Linked DNA regions of Homo sapiens: region 2 is linked to region 1. The links are contacts of gene promoters, found by promoter capture Hi-C in human tissues and cell types (Jung and others, 2019). All regions are on one chromosome and are shown on one strand. The core of a region is centred on a gene start or on the middle of the fragment in contact, and the rest is flanking DNA. Distances in the headings are between cores, read along the strand shown. Region 1 holds the start of PEX16 (peroxisomal biogenesis factor 16). Region 2 overlaps CREB3L1 (cAMP responsive element binding protein 3 like 1).

The links. The method cuts DNA at HindIII sites, captures the fragments that hold promoters and counts their contacts. A contact is called where the count stands out against the background at its distance.
Region 2: a contact is called between a fragment that was not itself captured here and the fragment with the promoter of PEX16 in region 1, in 1 of the 25 tissues and cell types used here (dorsolateral prefrontal cortex).

Annotation. Positions count from the first base shown.
Region 1 is chr11:45,916,036-45,921,933 of GRCh38, forward strand. PEX16 (peroxisomal biogenesis factor 16) reads right to left here and starts at 1,842. Exons shown (of 11, transcript NM_004813.4): 1 at 1,665-1,842; 2 at 1,423-1,458; 3 at 192-268. The coding sequence starts at 1,776. It also overlaps a transcript of LARGE2 not described here. RefSeq lists enhancers at 898-1,650, 1,597-1,666. The HindIII fragment of the contact is 33,493 bases long and covers 1-5,898 here.
Region 2 is chr11:46,321,265-46,327,911 of GRCh38, forward strand. It overlaps CREB3L1 (cAMP responsive element binding protein 3 like 1), which reads left to right. Exons shown (of 12, transcript NM_052854.4): 12 at 1-145. Among named protein-coding and RNA genes, the nearest start is that of DGKZ, 23 kb to the right of the region's middle. The HindIII fragment of the contact is 5,989 bases long and covers 464-6,452 here.

The DNA of each region.
Region 1 (5,898 bases), core at 592-3,091:
CTGAGACAGTCTCTTCATCTAAGATGGGAATACTCACACTTTACAGGTCACCTAATGAGATGGTTTGAGGCTCAGATGGACATAGGCCTGTCTCATACTCCATGAGACATGTGCTGCACGCATGGGCTAGCTGCTACTATTTCATTCCTGAGTCCCCATGCTTCCCACCCTGTTCTTGGCAGAATTCTCACCACAGGCAACTTTTTCCGAAGCTCCTTCCGTAGGATCCCGTCATTGAGCAGCACAAGCAGGTTAGAGGCAGAGTACACTGAGGGGTAGAGAGTGGCCTTGAGAGGCTGGCTCTGCAGCCTCCATCCCTCTCACCTTCTCCCCAGAGCTGCAGGGATCACCTGTCACATGCTCTGCTCAGACACCCACAGACTATGTGGAAACCAACCTTCTTCTCCACCCACTTCCTCAGCACTCCCCTCTCCCCAACATGATCTCACAAGGGTGGCTGGACCAAGAAAGGATGGGTCAATCTCAGTGACAAGCCAGTTACTGCCCTGCTGGATGGCACTGGTCATCCAGCTGCCCACAACTGCCCATCGCTCTCTGAACTGCCACAGATACACGGTCCCACCTCCTGGCCCTTTCTCTCTTGGCAGCCTGTTCCTGAGGGTCTATTCCACCTCCACTTTTCTTTTTTCTGAGTCGGAGTTTCACTCTTGTTGCCCAGGCTGGAGTGCAATGGCACAATCTCGGCTCACTGCAACCTCTGCCTCCCAGGTTCAAGCAATTCTCCTGCCTCAGCCTCTCAAGTAGCTGGGACTACAGGCACCTGCTACCATGCCCAGCTAATTTTTGTATTTTTAGTAGAGATGGGGTTTCACCATGTTGGCCAGGCTGGTCTCGAACTCCTGACCTCACGTGATCCACCTGCCTCTGCCTCCCAAAGTGCTGGGATTACAAGTGTGAGCCACTGCACCTGGCCTCACCTCTGCTTTTCAAAACCCAGTGCATTCTTTCAGGACTGTGACAGCAGTCACTGGGCAAACACTCTTGAGGTAGTTACAATCTGGGAATCCTGGAATCTGGGAGATCTAGACTTGAATCTTGGTTCTGGGACCATCAGTGACTGTTCTCTAACCTCACTGAGCTTCTTCCTTAAATGGACAGTGATGACAATAAGTACCACTTAATATGACTGTAGGGAGGATTAACAAGTAAAGGTAAGAAAGGCACTTAGTCCAGCGCCTGGCCAGTAGTGAATACTCAGATAAGGTCCCCAGACGTGTCTCTTGACTTAGGGACATGGAGGGCCCAGGACAATGAACAACAGACCTTGTGCCGATTCAGTCATAGCACAAGGTGTCTAACGGGCAGCCCAGGTCCTCGGGCTGGGGTGCTCACCCTCTCTGGGGAACTCACCAGGGGCCAGGCAGCCGATCCCCCATCCCCCACCCCCAGAGCCCGGCTCACCCAGCTCTGACAGCTCGTGCGAATCGGCGAATCGACCTGGGGAGAGGGTACAGAAGGAGGTGTGAGTGAGCATCTGCCTCACATTTCGTCTTCGGGTCCCGGAAATCCCCTCCCTACGCCCTTTGGGAACCTGGACGGGTCTTCTCAAGCACAGCGATCACTACCCTGACTCCGCAGGGAAGGGGGCCACTGGGGTCATAGGTCAGGGCCCAGAAGGAACTGATCAAAGGTCAGGGTGGCACCTGCCAGCAGGTAACTGAAGCCCCGCACTGCTGTCTCCAGCTGGGCCGTGGCGGCCGGGTGACGAGTCACGTACTCCTGGTAGCGGAGGCCCAGGAGCCGCAGCTTCTCCATCCTGCCCTCGGCACCGACAGACCCACAGAAGGACCGTACGACAGGCTGCGGCGCCCTGCTTCCTGCGCCCTCCTTCCTGCTTCCGGTCTTAGGCCCGCCTCTTGGTTGCTTAACTTCCGCGGGCCAGAAGGCTGAGGACTTGAAGAACCGGTGAACCACCCTTCACCCCATCTCTTGAACCGCTTCCCACTCGGGTAGCCCTTAGCAACTGAGGGCCCAAACCCGGCCCCCTACTCCCTCAAGTCATTGGTTAGCACGCTCTCCGCCCCTGACCCGCCCAGCGCCGTCAGCACCCAGCTCTTCCGTTTACCGGGTTGGCTGCCCTTGCGCCTGCGCAGTTAAAGCTCCGGTAAAGCCGGGCGGCAGTCAGAGCAGTTCATTCTAGAGAAGGGAGCTGGAGCCCCGAGTCTTTCCAATGGAACGCCGAGAGACTCGAACGGCAGGGCCGGATTTTAAAGGGCTGAGAGATAGCGGGTGCTTGAAAAAAGGAGCCTCGATCAGATTTGGGGAGGTGCGGGGCGTCTAAATACAGTTGCACTGTGTCTCAGCAGGCGCGCGTTCGGCCAGTATCCCCATCTCCGTTTCCTCAACAAAGGTAGTGCTGGGGAAACTGAGGCAGTAAGGAGTCCAGCCCTCTAGTGCCGTCTCGATCCCCTAGACAGCACAGTTAGTGCTCCGGCTTCGGCCTCAGCTCCCGTATGGACTGTGCCCCCCAAAGGGCTCGCGCCTGCATTCCCACATACGCGAAGAAAGCCCTGGCCCGGGCTTCTCTCGGCTCGGTGGCCCTTGGGCGGGAGTATCCCTTCTCTGGGTCTCGGATTTCCCGATCTGTAAAATGGTTTGAGGGCAGACTTGATCCTTGAACTCAGAATCGATCTCAGCTTTCTGGCCCTCGGACGCACCTCGCAGTCCTCAGCTGCGCCCCCAAGGGAAGGGGAGACCCCTGGGGAGTATCTTCCCAAACCAAGCAGCCTCCCTGGAACGGGTGGCACCGGGAGATCTGCGGCGAGTGGTGGAGGGAACGGGCGCTCTGGGGAGGTAGCGCTGATTGGCTGCGGGGAAAGGGGCGTGACATGGGTGGAGCCGTGGGCCAGTGGCCTGAGGGAGCGGGCCAGCGGATTTATGGTACCCTGAGAATAGTAATACATTATTTTACCTAATCCTCTCCACCAGATATCTCCAGATGAAGAAAGCATCCTTTTAAGAACGCCCAGCCAAAATTTGAGTGTTGGTCTTTTCTGACCTCAGAGACTAGGCGGTTTTTTTTAATTCATTTTTTTTAACTTTAATTTTATTTTTAGAGACCAGGTCTAAGCATCACACCTCACCAGGAAACCACAACCTTCCTTCCACTCCCTCACTCCACCCTACTCCACAGCTTAGTTTTCTTCTCTATCAGGTGGGGGATTAAAGCTGCCCTCTTCTCACATCAAAGAACGAAGACCCAGGGAAAGGTGACCAGGGGCCTGAGGAGAGGCAAAGGTCTTGGAGAACAGAGGAGGTGGTCATGGGCATCGTCGACATCATTTCTGGCCACGCTCTGGGTTCCAGGCTTGCTTGCCCTCCTCCCAGCAGCCCCAAGTTGCTATGAACTGTTCACAGATGGGAAATTAGGGCCCAATAAGGAGGGGAAAGGATTTGTCCCACATGGCACAGCAAGGCACTGGCCAAAGAGGCCACAGCGCAGGTCTCCAGTGGCAGTGCCCTCTCTCCTACTGCCCACAGCCCACAAAAGCTGTGACATGTTGAGGCTCCTTGGTCATAAGGCCAGTTAGCAACTGGGATTAGGACCTAGGCTCAGGGCCCTCAAGGTGAGGCTCCTTCTCCCTTCCTCTGCCCCACCTTGTTTTTTGTTTGTTTGTTTGTTTGTTTTTGAGACGGAGTCTCACTGTCGCCCAGGCTGGAGTGCAATGGTGCAATCTCAGCTCACTGCAAACTTTGCCTCCCAGGTTCAAGCAATTCTCCTGCCTCAGCCTCCCGATTAGCTGGGCCTACAGGCGCCCGCCACCACGCCTGACTAATTTTTGTATTTTTAGTAGAGACGAGGTTTCGCCATGTTGGCCAGGCTGGTCTCGAACTTCTGACCTCAGGTGATCCGCTTACCTCAGCCTCCTAAAGTGCTGGGATTATAGGTGTGAGCCACTGAGCCCTGCAGGGCCCTGCTGTGCACCAACACCTTAGTGAACTTGTTCCTCAAACCTCCAGTTTGGCCACTCCTCCAGCCCTCCCTCTGCAGCTGTGGAGAGGGTACAGAGAGAGAATTTGAGGTTCTTCAGCACTCCTTGGGCTGGAGGTCCTGATTCTGAGAGCAAGGTGTGGAGGGGAGAGGGGCAGACTCCCCAGGACAGAATAGGAAGGGGCTTGGGCTGGAACCAGTTTCTTCTCCCTCCCTGCAGAACTGGGAAGGGGAGCATGGGTCTAGCCAGCTTGGCAGCAGCAGGGCTGCCTGAATTTCCTCTCTAGATCCCAGGCCGGATTAGGGCCCAGAGACAAAGAGTTGCGGTGTGTGCAGGAGGCCCCTCCCCTGCTCCCTGGCCCCCTGCCTGGGCTTGGCCGTCTTTGTTGGGCTGGAAGGACCTTTGGGCAGATTGAGCCGTATCCTCTCTCCTTCAGTTTGCCCCAAGTCACAGGGGAAGAGAGGTAGACCAGTCCAACATTTACCTACGAGAGTACCAGAGGCCCAGAGATGGAGCCTCACTCGTCTAATAGGGTCACACAGCAAAGTCCTGGGCAGAGCTGGGTCAAAATGGGTCTTAGGCCAAGAGGAACAGCACCTGTTTATATGCCCATACGTGTCCCTCTTTCTCCCTCCACGCCCCCAGAACAACCCCTTGGGGGCCTAGCAGGTATCTCAGCACTTCAGTTTCCCTGAGTGGTGAGGTTGAGCCAGAAGAAGGGCCAACATTGTGAGTGACTACAGTGAGATCTGCAGACCCAGCTTCCTGCACTGACTCCCCCAGCCCCTTTATTGAAGACTCATCCTGGGCCAGCACCCAACTATGGATCCCATATGGTGTTTGTTTGTTTTTAGAGACAAGGTCTCACTCTGTCACCCAGGCTGGAGTGCAGTGGTGTGATTACAACTCACAGCAGGCTTGACCTCCTGGGTTCAGGTAGTCCTCCTACCTCAGCCTCCCAAGTACTAGGCACATGCCACCACGCCCAGCAATTTTTGTATTTTTTGCAGTCATACAGTTTGGCCGCATTGAGCAGGCTAGTCTCAAATTCCTGGGCTCAAGCAATCCACCTGCCTTGGCCTTCCAAAGTGCTGGGATTACAGGCATAAGCCACTGTTCTGGCCTGGTCTCACATGTTTAACCCCCACAAACCGTCTCTGTTGAGGGTCCTGGAGAGGGAATCACATTTCCCCACCCCAGCTTTAGGCTACAGATGAAGATCAGGGAGGCTGGAGGCTCAAGCTCCAGACGCCTGAGTGGCCAGTGCATGGCCCTTCTCAATTTCTGGGTGCACAAGGAGCCACCATCAGTCTCCATAGCAACCATTATCCCTGCCCTCCAGAGACCCAAAGCCTGACCTTCCCCATCTCCCAGAGAAAGGGGGTCTCAGGTTGGGCTGCTTTCCACAGCTTCTTTTGAGTTTGCCTCACTTTTTGCAGCCAGAAGTTGGGCAAATGACACAGCCTGAGCCCCCTTTCCAGGTCATGGGAGGGGAGATTCTCATTCCAATCCACTTTCAACAGGTATTGAGCACTTGGTATGTGCAGGCCCTGGTTGGGCACTGGGGACTGGACAGACAAGGTTCCAGTCCGGTGAGCAGCTTACATTCTGGGAGGGAGACCTGCAATAAACAAGCAAACAACTTCAACTTTCCATGAGTGCTAGCCAGCCCTGGGAGGCTCCGCTGCCAGAAGGAACGTCAAGGGCAAGTCCTGGGGCGGGAGACCCTTCCGGAGGAGGAGCAAGAAAGCTGCTTCTGCAGCGCAGAGCCTGGGGAACGGAGTGGGGCCGCTTGAGACGGGAGGGGCCGGAGGGTGTTCTTGTCTAACAGGTCACTTAAACTCTCCGGGGGAGAATTAGCCCGCATCATGGGATTAATCGAGGGTGATTAAATCCTTAGCACAGGGCCTGGCACGCTGTGCTGGTTTAGGGTCCAGAGCGCCCC
Region 2 (6,647 bases), core at 2,208-4,707, 410 kb after region 1:
GGCCCAGGAAAGAGGGACTACCTGACCCTCACCTGGCACCCCCCTGCTGCTGCCCAAGCCGCTGGGCCTTTTTAATTGCCAAACTGCTCTCTTCATCAGCTCAGCACATGCTTTAAGAAAGCAAAACCAAAAAAAAAAAAAAAAAGATGCAGCATCAACTCCTGACTTTGTGCCTTTCTTCATTGGAGGGGAGGGAAAGTAGAACCAAAGGGCAGGGGAACAACAAGGGTAGGTTGATTTTATGTTCTGGCAGGGGGTGTGGGGGTATAGGAGTATGAGAAGGCATTTTTTTTTTTTTGTAGAGGTAGGGTCTCGCTATGTTGCCCAGGCTGGTCTCAGACTCCTGGGCTCAGTCTGCCCACCATGGCCTCCCACAGTGCTGGGATTACAGGCGTGAGCCACCATGCCCAGCCTGTTCACTTTTTATTTTCCAATATTTTGTTGACTGATTTGTTATTTCCTCTTCTGTCTTTGGGCTTTATTTATAGCTTTTATATGTGTATGCTTTTATTTGAGGATTAGGAAGATAGTTTAGATAAATGTTTTTTATCTGCCTATTTAAGGAGAACCCCATGTATGTATGTATGTGTACATGAATGAATGACAAGATCTCGCTCTATTGCCCAAGTTGGAGTCCAGTGGTGCAATCATAACTCACTGTGGTTTCAAAATCCTGGGCTTAAGCAATCTTCCACCTCAGCCTCCCAAAGTGCTGGGATTACAGGCGTCAGCCACTGCACCTGGCCAAGAAGGCATTTCTATTGGGCTTTCTCTTCTAGCCAGGTGCAGAATTCAAACCAAACAGCCAAAGAATCTGCTGCAATTCACTCACCTCAGGGCTGCTCCAAGGATCAAGACAGAGTATCAAAGCCACCATCTTGGCCTTTGGGGATGGCCACTGCAAGAATGGAGCCTCCACTGTGGTCCAGGCACTGTGCTAGACACTTCACATACTATACCCAGTTTGGTCCTCCTAAGACCTGCCAGTTTCTTAGTTCTTGTATCCTTTGCCTCAGCTGGATTGAAGGCATAGACTTCTAAGTCAGAAGAGCTGCATTTGAGTATTGGAGCTGCCACTTGCTAGCTGTGTGTGGCAGGTAGAATTCTAATATAGCCTCTAAGATTCCCATCCACTGGTGTACACACCCTGTTGAATCCTTCCCCTAGAACATGGAGGGGACCTGCGAAGATGAGAGACCATCACGCTCATAATTAGATGATCTTTTCTGGAAACAGTTAAGAGATTTTGCAGATGTAATTAAGATCCCAAATCGGATGATTTTGAGTTCATTAAAAAGGGAGATGAGGCCGGGCACGCAGTGGCTCATGCCCGTAATCCCAGAATTTTGGGAGGCCGAAGTGGGCAGATCACTTGAGGTCAGGAGTTCCAGACCAGCCTGGCCAATATGGTGAAACCCCATCTCTTTGTAGAAATACAAAAATTAGGTGGGCATTGTAGTGCACACCTAAAATCCCAGCTACTCGGGAGGCTGAGGTAGGAGAATTGCTTGAACCTGGGAGGTGGAGGTTGCAGTGAGCCGAGATCATGCCACTGCACTCCAACCTGGGTGACAGAGCAAAACTCTGTCTCAAAAAAATAAATAAATAATAAAAGGTAGATGATCCTGGGTGGGCCTGGCTTAATCAGGTGAAAGCCACGAAGGAAGGGACTGGGCCTTCCTAAATAGAGAGAGCACCTCCTGCTGGCCATGGGGCAGAAAGCCATGCTGTGAGGGGAGGGGCGGTTTCTAGGAGCCGAGGATCCCAGTGCCATAGCAGCAAGGACCAAATTCTGCCAACAACCTGAACACGCTCGGAAGATGACCCCAAGCTCCAGATGCAAACATAGCCTAGACAATACCTGGCTGCAGCCTGGTGACACCCAGAGGGAAGGACCCTGTTAAGCCATACCCAGACTGTGAGCCATGGACACAGAGATAGGGAATGTGTGTTGTCTGAAGCTGCCAGGTGGTAGTGATTTGCTAGGCAACATAGGACATAAGTAAGACACTCTGTAACCGGAATCTCTCTGAGCCCCCATTTCTTCATTTGTAAAACAAGGCTGTATTGGGGACTCAAGGAGGTAAGTCATCTAAAGTGCTCAGAACAGGGCCCAGAACTAGTGAGCTCCAAGAAGCACCAGCTGTGCATTAAGAGGCAATGTCGGGACCGGGTGCAGTGGCTCACGCCTGTAATCCCAAGCACCCTGGGAGGCCGAGGTGGGTGGATCATCTGAGGTTATGAGTTCCAGCCTGGCCAACATGGCAAAACCCTGTCTCCACTAAAATATAGAAATTAGCCGGGCGTGGTGTCAGATGCCTGTAATCCCAGCTACTCCTGAGGCAGGGAAAATTGCTTGAACCCAGGAGGTGGAGGTTGCAGTAAGCCAAGATTGCGCCACTGCACTCCAGCCTGGGTGACACAGAAGACTCTGTCTGAAAAAAAAAAAAAAGAAAGAAAGAAAGAAAAGAAAGAAAAGAAAAAAGCCAATATTGATACCATGTGCTACAGAGGGCCTCACAAGCGGGGCTAGGAAGGCACACAGACCTCACCCAGACCTGAGCACCAAGCCTTTCTGGAGGAGGGGACAGGAAAGATTGTTAGACATTGGCAGGAAATGGCCAGACATGGTGGCTCATGCCTGTAATCCCAGCGCTTTGGGAGGCTAAGGCGAGAGGATTGCTTGAGCCCAGGAGTTAAAGGCCAGCCTGGGCAAAACATAGTGAGACCCTGGTCCCTACGCAAATTTTTTTTTTTTTTTGAGATAGAGTCTTGCTCTATTGCCCAGGCTGGAGAGCAGTGGCAGGATCTCAGCTCACTGCAACCCCCCACCGTCTTCTGGGTTCAAGCAATTCTCCTGCCTCAGCCTCCCGAGTAGCTGGGACTACAGGCACACGCCACCACGCCCAGCTAATTTTTGTATTTTTAGTAGAAACGGGGTTTCACCGTGTTGGCCAGGATGATCTCCAACTCTTGACCTTGTGAGCCACCCATTTCCACCTCCCAAAGTGCTGGGATTACAGGCGTGAGCCACCACGCCCGGCCACAATTTTTTTTTTTAATCATGATAATAATGGCCCATGCCTGTTGTCCTAGCTACTCAGGAGGCTGGGGCAGGAGGATCACTTGAACCCAGGAGTTCAAGGCTGCAGTGAGCTATGATCGTGCTACTGCACTTCAGCTTGGGTGACAGAGCAAAACCCCCCCACTCTAAAAATACTAATAAAAGGCAGAAAAGAGGAAAAGGGGCATGCCAGGAAAAAGCAGCAGCCTGGGCAAAAGACTTCAAGGTGAGACAGAACAGGAAACGTTTCAGAAAAGTCAAACAGGCCAGGCGAGGTGGCTTGCACCTGTAATCCCAGCACTTTGGGAGGCCGAGGTGGGAACATCACTTGAGCCCAGGAGTTGGAGACCAGCCTGGGCAACATAGCAAGACCCTGTCCCTATTGAAAGAAAAGAAAAGAAAAGTCAAATAATTTACAATAGCCAGAAGGTAGAGGCCAGAGACGCTAAGAATTAAGCCTGACTGATGAGCCAGGGCCGGATCCAGAGGGGTCACGAATGCCTTGCTAAGGCATTTGGACTTTATCACTCAGGCACGATACTTTCATACACAGAAGCAAGGGCACGGTGGTGGGATGGTGCCTACACTACCACCAGCCACCCACCAGAAGAAAAGTGGGACGAGGCCAGGCAGAATCATGAAAACTCAGAACTGGCCTCCACGCCCCTTCCCCTCAAAGCTTCGGCTTGACCACCTCCAGTGACAGTGACAGAGACCTCACTGCCTGCTGCTGGGCATCAGTTTTAACTGCTGGAAAGCGTAGGCCTTTAGAGCAAGGCCATTAAAGCCTGGGCTCTGGATCCCACGCTGTTATTATTATTATTTTGAGACAGAGTCTCACTCTGGTGCCCAGGCTAGAGTGCAGTGGTGCAATCATGGCTCATTGCAGCCTCCACCTCCCATATTCAGCGATTCTCCTGCCTCAGCCTCCAGAGTAGCTGGGATTACAGGTGTGCACCACCACATCTGGCTAATTTTTGTATTTTTATTAGAGATGGGGTTTCACCATGTTGGCCAGGCTGGTCTCAAACTCCTGGCCTCAAGTGGTCCACCTGCCTCGGCCTCCCAAAGTGCTGGGATTACAGGTGCGAACTACTGCACCTGGACTCAATGTTATTATTATTAATGATAACTTTTTTTTTTTTTGAGACAGGATCTCACTCTGTCGCCCAGGCTGGAATGCTGTGGCATGATTACGGCTCATTCCAACCTCCACTTCCCAGTCTGAAGCCATCCTCCCACCTTAGCTTCCTGAGTAGCTGGGACTGCAGGCATGTACCATCATTACCTCAAAGGCCCCAGGCCGGTGGTGGAAGTTGGGGAATAAACCAGCCATGGGGATGTTGTGATGGAGGGGTGTACAGGATATTAAGGGACACAGAGTATCATGTAATTCAGATGGAGGGGGAGGTGAGGGAAGGCAGCCGGGAGGAGGGTGACCCTTGAACCGAGGCTTCAAGGATGGGAGGAGTTGGTAAGACAGAGAAGGGGTAAGAGCATTTGGAGTGGAGAGAATGGCAAATGCAAAGGCATGGAGCCATGAAAAGCAAGACTAGGGTGGTGCAAGCGGGCTTTGATACACACATGTGATGGCTTCTGCCGCACCAGTCATCCTGCTCGGATTGCCACAACAAACCCTTTGTTATATCTGGAAACCAGGGTGCAGAATACAAGGAGGCACCTGGACAGACCTGAGAAAGGGCACCTCCTGGCCGAGCATAGTGGCTCACACCTGTAATCCCACCACTTTGGGAGGCCAAGGCGGGCGGATCACTTGAGGTCAGGAGTTCGAGACCAGCCTGGCCAACATGGTGAATCCCCATGTCTACTAAAAATACAAAAAAACTAGCCAAGCGTGGTGGCACACACCTGTAATCTCAGCTACTCAGGAGGCTGAGGCAGGAGAATCACTTGAACCCAGGAGGTAGAGGTTGCAGTGAGCTGAGATCGGACCACTGCACTCCAGCCTGGGTGACAGAGAGAGACTCCGTCAAGAAAGAAAAGAAAAGAAAGGGAAAGAAAGGGAAAGGAAGGAAGGGAGGAAGGGAGGGAGGGAGGGAGGGAGGGAGGGAGGGAGGAAGGCAGGCAGGCAGGCAGGCAGGCAGGCAGGCAAGCTCCTTAAACGTCACACCTTAGGTGCCAGCTTGTTTACCCTCATCCTGGCCCTGAGGAAAACCATGGCCCTTCCAGAGATCTAAAGAAAGAACACCTTATCCTGAAGGGGTGGGAGCCACCGCATCCTTTCAAGCCAGAGAGTGAAAGAATCAGACGTCCCTGCCCTGAGTCTCTGCAGAATGGAGAAGATGAGATGATTCCAGACAGAATTAGAAGGAATCATCAACAAGCTCTGACATCAAATTGGCCGTGAGGTCTGGAGGAAGGGTGGGGCCTGAAATGACCCACTTGGAGGTCCTGAGTGGGTGATGAGGCTGTTGACCATGACAGGGATTCAGGAGGAAGAGCAGGTTTGGAGAGAAAGATTAGAACTCATTTTAGCACATCTGGCATTTGAGTTGCCTGTAGAACATTCACATTAACATGTAATTATAGGGCTTGGGAGAAAAAGATCCCAGCCAGAGATGAGGAAATTGTCAGCGCCCAGGTGGTAGGTGAAAGCCTTGGGTCTGCATAAAGGGATGTGAGATAAGGGCAGGACTCCAGGGAAGAAGACATTAAGAGTGGAGGGAAGAGGAGTGAACCAGAGGGCAGAGAAGGGATGGTCGGAGAGGAAAGAAAACCAGGAGAGATGAGTGCCCAGAAACTGACCAGGAGAGCACTTCCCGGGGCGATGGTCAGGGGTGTCCTCGCTCCTGGAGTGGAGGCTGAAGCAGGAAGCTCACGTGAGCCCAGGAGGCTGAGGCTGCGGCAAGCTGTGATTGCACCACTGCACTCCAGGCTGGGCAATAGAGCAAGACCCAGTCTCTAAAAAAGAACTTTTTTAAAAATGTGGTTTGGGCCAGGCGTGGTGGCGCATGCCAGTAATCCCAGCACTTTGGGAGGCTGAGGTGGGCGGATCATGAGGTCAGGAGTTCAAGACCAGCCTGACCAACATAGTGAAACCCTCTCTCTACTAAAAATACAAAAAAAAAAAAAAAAAATTAGCCAGGCTTGGTGGCGCATGCCTGTAATTCCAACTACTCAGGAAGCTGAGGCAGGAGAATCGCTTGAACCCGGAAGGTAGAGGTTGAAGTGAGCCAAGATCACGCCACTGCACTCCAGCCTGGGCAACAGAGCGAGACTCTGTCTCAAAAAATAAAATAAAATAAAAAATATGGTTTGGAGCAGTTTTTCAGATGGGAGATCATTGACCATGGTTATTTCTAGAACACAGAGCCAACAGAGGGAAAACCCAGAGGGCCACAGAGAGGATGGTAGATGCGGGGGGTGGGAATGGGATCCAGGGGCAGGTGGATAGGTCCACCTTTGGACAGAGAGGACTAGACAAAAAGGGAGAGCATTCTGTGGGTGCAGAATGTGAGGAGACAGGAAACTGAAGGAGTACTCCAATAACTGAGGTGTGGGAGAGGGGCAGTGTGGAGGGTTGGCATGGGCGTGGAAGGGGGAGAAAAGGGACAGTTTGAAA